Linked DNA regions of Homo sapiens: region 1 is linked to region 2. The links are contacts of gene promoters, found by promoter capture Hi-C in human tissues and cell types (Jung and others, 2019). All regions are on one chromosome and are shown on one strand. Each heading gives the region's core, a stretch centred on a gene start or on the middle of the fragment in contact. The rest is flanking DNA. Distances are from core to core; before and after follow the strand shown.

What was found. Contacts are between HindIII fragments. The study calls those that stand out against the background at their distance.
Region 1: a contact is called between a fragment that was not itself captured here and the fragment with the promoter of PRKAG2 in region 2, in 1 of the 25 tissues and cell types used here (spleen).

Annotation. Positions count from the first base shown.
Region 1 is chr7:152,723,095-152,726,520 of GRCh38, reverse strand. No RefSeq gene overlaps it. Among named protein-coding and RNA genes, the nearest start is that of ACTR3B, 35 kb to the left of the region's middle. The HindIII fragment of the contact is 3,131 bases long and covers 49-3,179 here.
Region 2 is chr7:151,875,616-151,878,817 of GRCh38, reverse strand. It overlaps PRKAG2 (protein kinase AMP-activated non-catalytic subunit gamma 2), which reads left to right and starts at 1,703. Exons shown (of 16, transcript NM_016203.4): 1 at 1,703-2,311. The coding sequence starts at 2,198. PRKAG2-AS1 (PRKAG2 antisense RNA 1) reads right to left here and starts at 1,776. Exons shown (of 3, transcript NR_038926.1): 1 at 1,678-1,776; 2 at 952-981; 3 at 1-256. RefSeq lists silencers at 1,209-1,638, 2,401-2,450, 2,511-2,650 and an enhancer at 2,841-2,960. The HindIII fragment of the contact is 16,422 bases long and covers 1-3,202 here.

The DNA.
Region 1 (3,426 bases), core at 365-2,864, 850 kb before region 2:
AACCAGATTAATTTTTAACTTCTTTCATTGCATTTTTCTCAGCTCACCTTCAAGTGAAAGTCCTAATGATTTTTAAAATATCACTCCACTAGAAGAAAAATAAGCTGAGTAACCCTGAAAATCCAGATGCAGAACTATCAAGGGACCGTGTACTCGCTCTACTTTATGATGTCATAACATCGTATGTACAATGATATGTACCCCAAGGCATTTAATGCTTTCAAAAGAATTTTTTTTTTTTTTGCTTTGAGACAGAGTGTCACTATGTTGCCCAGATTGGTCTTAAACTCCTGACCTCAAGTGATTCTTCCACCTCAACCTCCCAAATATTAATAGCTGGGATTACAAGTGTGAGCCACCATGCTTAGCTAAAAAAAAAAAAAAAAATTTTTTTTTTTTGAGACAGAGTCTCACTCTGTAGCCCAGGCTGGAGTGCAGTGGCGTGATCTCAGCTCACTGCAACCTCCACCTCTCGGGTTCAAGCAATTCTCATGCCTCAGCCTCCCAAGTAGCTGGAATTACAGGCATCCACCACCACACCCAGCTAATTTTTGTATTTTTAGTACAAACGGGGTTTCACCCTGTTGGCCAGGCTTGTCTCAAACTCCTGGCCTCAAGTGATCTGTCTGTCTTGGCCTCCCAAAGTGCTGGGATTGCAGGTATGAGCCAATGCACCTGGCCTAAAAAATTTTTTGTAAATTAATAGCTGCACAGCCTGGGCAACATGGAGAGACTCTGTCTCTACAAAAAAAAAAAAAAATTAAAAACAAATTAGCTGGGTGTGCTGGCACACACGTGTACTCCTAGCTACTCAGGAGGCTGAGGCAGGAGGATCACGTTAGCCTGGAAGGTAGAGGCTGCAGGGAGCCATGAACGCACTGCTGTACTCCAGCCTCAGAGATGGAGCAAGAGACACCCTGCATCAAAAAAAAAAAAAATTAATAGCTAATAGCTGTGCTTGACTGTGTTATTCAAAATATGAAACTTAAATGCTCAAATAAAATCAAAATATATGTCTTTTGCTTCACTCAACCTAGCCATCAAAACACTCCATTGGAGAAGAAAATTAAAAAGAATTGACAAGCTTTATTCTCATAATTGTGCTTTTAAGTTGATTGCTGTCAACTATTGAAAGCACTCTAATGTTGGTCAGTGTCTTCAGTGGATAAACGGAAAATTAGACTTGCTTAGTTAATATAAATTTTAACATAGATGTAAATAAAGCACAACTAAAATAGTACAATATTTCCTAATCACAAGCTAAACCATCAATCCACAATCACTTTTTAAGAAAAAAAATGCCTTTAATACAGAGTTTTTAGAAACTTTAACAAGGCTGGGCGCGTTGGCTCCTGCCTGTAATCCCAGCACTTTGGGAGGTTGAGGTGGGTGGATCACTTGAGTTCAGAAGTTCAAGACAAGCCTGACCAACATGGTGAAACCCCATCTCTACTAAAAATACAAAAATTAGCTGAGTGTGGTGGCACGTGCCTATAATCTCAGCTACTCAGGAGGCTGAGGCAGGAGAATCGCTTGAACCTGGGAGGCAGAGGTTGCAGTGAGCCAAGATCACGCCACTGCACTTGGCCACAGAGGCAGACTCTGTCTCAAAAAAATAAATAAATATGGCCAGGAGTGGTGGCTCATGCCTGTAATACTAGCACTTTGGGAGGCCGAGGTAGGTGGATCACCTGAGGTCAGGAGTTCAAGACTACCCCGGCCAACATGGTGAAACCCCATCTCTACTAAAAATACAAAATTAACCGGTATGGTGGCCACATGCCTGTAATCCCAGCTACTTGGGAGGCTGAGGCAGGAAAATTGCTTGAACCTGGGGAGCGGAGGTTGCAGTGAGCTGAGATCATACCATTGCACTCCAGCCTGGACAACTCCGTCTCCAGAAAATTAAACTCCAGGCAAGGCGCGGTGGCTCACGCCTGTAATCCCAGCACTTTGGGAGGCCAAGGTGGGCAGACCACAAGGTCAGGAGATCAAGACCATCCTGGCTAACACAGTGAAACCCTGTCTCTACTAAAAATATAAAAAAATAAGCCAGGTGTGGTGGCAGGCGCCTGTAGTCCCAGCTACTTGGGAGGCTGAGGCAGGAGAATGGTGTGAACCCAGGAGGCGTAGGTTGCAGTGAGCCAAGATCGCGCCTGGGCGACAGAGCAAGACTCTGTCTCAAAAAAAAAAAAAAAAAAAGTTAAACTCCATCTCAAAAAAAGCTAAACTCTGTCTCAAAAAAAAATTAAAAAATTAAATATAAATACATAAATAATAAAATTAAAATTAACACTTGTCAAATATTTTATTCAACTCATTAGTGAGGAAAATAGTAAGATGTGAAGACTGGTTCAAAGGACAAATGAGGAGCTAGGTATTTATAATCATATTAATAAATAAATATTAGGATAAAATTGATGGATCCAAAACTGGTTAATATCCTAGAGGGCACCAGACCATAACCTTTGGGGTTTTCTTTTCTGCTGCATGAAAATTATTTGCATCTCTTTTTGTTTTGTTCTGTTTTTTGGGTTTTGTTTTGTTTTTTGAGACCCAGTTTCACTCTGTCACCCAGACAGGTGTGATCTCAGCACACTGTAATCTCTGCCTCCTGGGCTCAAGCGATCCTCCCACCTCAGCCTCCTGTGTAGGTGGGACTACAGATGCGTGCCATCACACTCAGCTAATTTTTGTATTTTTTGTAGAGACAGAGGTCTTGCCATGTTGCCCAGCTGATCTCAAGCTCCTGAGCTCAGGTGATCCACCCACCTTGGCCTCCCAAAGTGCTGGGATTGCAAGCATGAGCTACCATGCCTGGCCTTTCTGGTTCTGGATTTTGTGGGGGGTTATTTTTAGAGACAAGGTCTTGCTCTGTCTCCCAGGCTGGAGTGCAGTGGCACAATCATGGCTCACTGTAATCTTGAACTCCTGGGCTCAAGCGATCCTCCCACACTTGGCCTCCCAAAGTGCTGGGATTACAGGCACCAGTCACAGCCCCCAGCCTGCATTTCTACCAGACAAGAATCTCTAAGTTACAGGCAACTTCTCTGAGCCTGAGAACTTTAATCAATAGTACCTAGTGGCTGAGCAAAGTATATTCCCTAAATTGTCCCTCTTGGATGGACCTTTGTCCTTATATGTCATTGACGAGCTGTGTGGTTTACCTGTTTACCTTGCTTTCAATTTTGGATAATTTTTCTTACCATCCCCTTACTCTTCTCCAGAGTCTACATTCAATTCTTGTTAGTCTTCCATCTTTTTTTTTTTTTTCCTTATGAGATGGAATTTTGCTCTTGTCGCCCAGACTGGAGTGTAATGGTGCTATCTTGGCTCACTGCAACCTTTGCCTCCCGGGTTCAAGCGATTCTTCTGCCTCAACCTCCCAAGTAGCTGGGACTACAGGCATGTGCCACCATGCCTGGC
Region 2 (3,202 bases), core at 454-2,953:
GGGGACAGAGGCTAAATACTACCCCCTCCCCTTTTCTACTTCTAACCAATATCTTGAGCATTCAGTGGGACAATACAGTCTTGCTGGGTCTCTTGAAATCCTCTAGCAAGAAGCCAGCCAGGAGAAGACCCAGAAGTCCCACACCTGTGGGGCCAGGATGGCTGCTTGGTTGCTAAACCCAGACAGGGTCCTTCCAGTGCATCTGCCCCTGTCAGGCTCTGTCTCGAGACTGGGGATCTTCCAGGCTGGCTTCATTCTGGACCAGAGAGCAGAGGAGAAGGAGAAAGAATATAAACCCACCCCTATGAGCCAGGGAACCACCCAAGCTGTAAGGATTTTGTGCAAGCTGCTGGAACTCGGGTTGGAAAAGCCACCCGGCAAGCAGCTGAAAGGAAGGATGCTTCTCCCTGCGTGGGCGCACGCCTGCTTCCTAAGAGATGATCCTTTGGGTGGGCTGATCATGCCTCCTCCTCTGGGGAGGGAGTCCTGCGAAAGCACGCACCTCAAAAGGAGTAAAGGCCCTATGGTGTCCCCAAAGCGACCCCTGTCGCGTTCTTTCTGCGGGTGGCCTCCCTGCATTACTGATTACTCGGAGCGGCTGAGCTGACGTCAGCATTCTGGGAGCGCCAATGACCTTTGGGGTCATCACATCCTCAGAAACTAGAGCAGGAGGGGAAGCGACCCCCAAGCCAGCACTCCCCCTACTTTCCACCAGGGAGCCGAGGTCGCGCCATCCTGGGGCGCATCTGGGGGTGGGGGACACACCAGCCCCCTCCCCCAACCCCTCTAGGGCCCTCGGCAGCAGGCGGTACTGGATGCCCACCCGGGGCTCTAAAGGACCTGGGCCGCACCGGGAACCCTCGCCCGGGTCTTCGAGCCCTCCCCTTCTCCCAATTCTTTCCGCAGTCTCAGGAGCCCCACGTTTCCCGCGGCGTGGGGACACGCACTTACCGCGGATCCACTGCGCAAACCTTGATGAACCTGAAAAAAGCAGGGTGGGGTGGGGTGGGGTGAGGGTGGGGGTGGCTAGACCCTGCTCGCACCCAGCGCCACGCACCGCTCTCTGGGCGGGTTCGAGTGCGCGCGCCGGGCGGGGCGGGACCCGGGGGCTGCGGTGTTTCGAGAAGCACGTGCTACTTCGCGCGCAGCGCCCCCGGAGACTGTGGGCTTCCTCGCTGCCTGGTCTACGGCAGGGCGGGCGCGGGGGCGTGTTTCAAAGGGTAGGGCACACAGTGAGACGCCGGGAGGCGGGATGGATCCGAAACCAGCTCGCAGCGAGTCCCAAGCGGCTGCGGCCGCCGCAGGGGTCTGGGCGCGGCGACGAGGGCGGCGTGGGGCGACGGGGAGCGGGACGGTGGCGCTGCACGCCGCGCACTTCCTGTTCAACACGCGCCGCCTCCCACCACCCGCGCTCCCCGAGCTTGCGTCGGTGCCAGGCCCGGCCCCTCACTGTCCCCTTGCGGTCCCCTGGGGCCGCGGCGCGGCGGGGGGCGAGGAGCGGGCGCCCTGCCCTTCTTGGCCCGCTGGACTCCGGGCGCCCCCTCCGGCGCGCAGGGCCGCGAGCGCCGCCGCCAGAACTTCTGCCAGCGGCCGCCCGTAGCCTAATTGCGCAGAGGGCTCGCCTTGCACCTCCTCTTCCCCCGCCGCCCTCCCTCTCGCCCAGAAAGGAGGACGGACCCAGCTGCAGGCTCCGAGCTGGTTTATTCTGCGGCCGAGGATTACATTTATGCACGAACGGGCTTACTGGTTCCAGATTCCCCACTTGGGCACAGGCATAGGAGGCTTGTTTTCCAAATTGCTGGTTTTAATTGCACCTGCCTTTCAGATTACCTCTGGGAATCTGTGGGAGGAGCCGAGAGGGTGGAAAATGTTTCTTAGCTTTGCAAAAGGAAGAAAACTTTGTCACCCAGCGGGAGACCTCAGCCACGAGTAACCCGGGGAGACACCAGAACCGGGACGGGCTTTGACTGATTTGCCTACGAGGGTTCCGTAGGAAAGGACGCTTGAATTCGGCGCTTCGGCGGCGGCGGCGGCCGCGCGAGTTCCCTGCTCACCCTCCCTCTCCGCGGAAGTCCCCACGAGGTGGCTTCAGGGTGTAACAGAGCGCGCGGCTCCAGTCCGAAGGCAGCGGCCGGGGGAGGGAAGGAGGGGACCGAACCCCCGAGGAGTTTCGCAGAATCAACTTCTGGTTAGAGTTATGGGAAGCGCGGTTATGGACACCAAGAAGAAAAAAGATGTTTCCAGCCCCGGCGGGAGCGGCGGCAAGAAAAATGCCAGCCAGAAGAGGCGTTCGCTGCGCGTGCACATTCCGGTGAGTCCCAGCACTCGGTCCCCTGCTCCCCAGCCCTCCTGTCGCTCCCGTCCCCGGCGCCGAAGCGGTTAACGCTGGACGCCCCGCGCGCGCCGTGCGTGCCCCTCCTGTCACTTCGGGCGGCTTGGGGAAAGGGTAGAGGGACAGGGCCCGAGCTGGGCTGGCGGAGCCGGGGCTCAATCTCTCTCTCTGCCCGCGTGCAGCCAGGGCTGGGGCTCCGCCTGGGGCGGGGGCTGGGCGGCTGCAGACTAGAGGGGGCGCCGGGCGCGGCGGGTGGGCGGCTGGGCGTAGCCCGGTATCCAGCCGGGTGCGGGTGCGGGGGGCGGTGCGTTGTGTTGTTTTGCTGAAAAGGGACGGTGTGGACTGCGCTCCGGGGAGGTGGAGCCCGCGCTCGGCTGCTGGAGACGGAGAGAGGGGAGGGGAGGGAGGAGAGGGGAGGGGCGGTGGGTGGGGAAAGCAGCGGGGCGGGGGTTGGGGGGAGCTGTGTAGCTGCGTCTTCCAATGCACCCCCTCCGCTCCAGTTTCTCTCCGGGCGTTTCTGGGCCTGGAGCGGGGGTCTCCTCTGCCGCCGTTCCCTTCCCCCGCCCCGGGAGTGTACTTTGGGTCTCTGTGGTATTTGGGGGCTCGGAGCTCCCTAATCCGTGCAGGCTGCATTGAACTTCAGCCCCGTCCGCGCCAGCCGCCCGGGAGGACATTGGCGACTCGGATCTGCCTGCGGCTTCACTTTGTCCAGCCAGAGGGGCGGCGGGCCGCGTAGTGGTTCTCTTTTCGGAAGGCGCCCCGGTAGCCCGCGGCCACTGTTCCTCGCCTCCACGTAGCGGGGTAGGGCGGTGGGAGGTGTGGCCCACTGGGTCACACCCTCCGCCTCAGCCAACCAAGTAAATGTTTGTG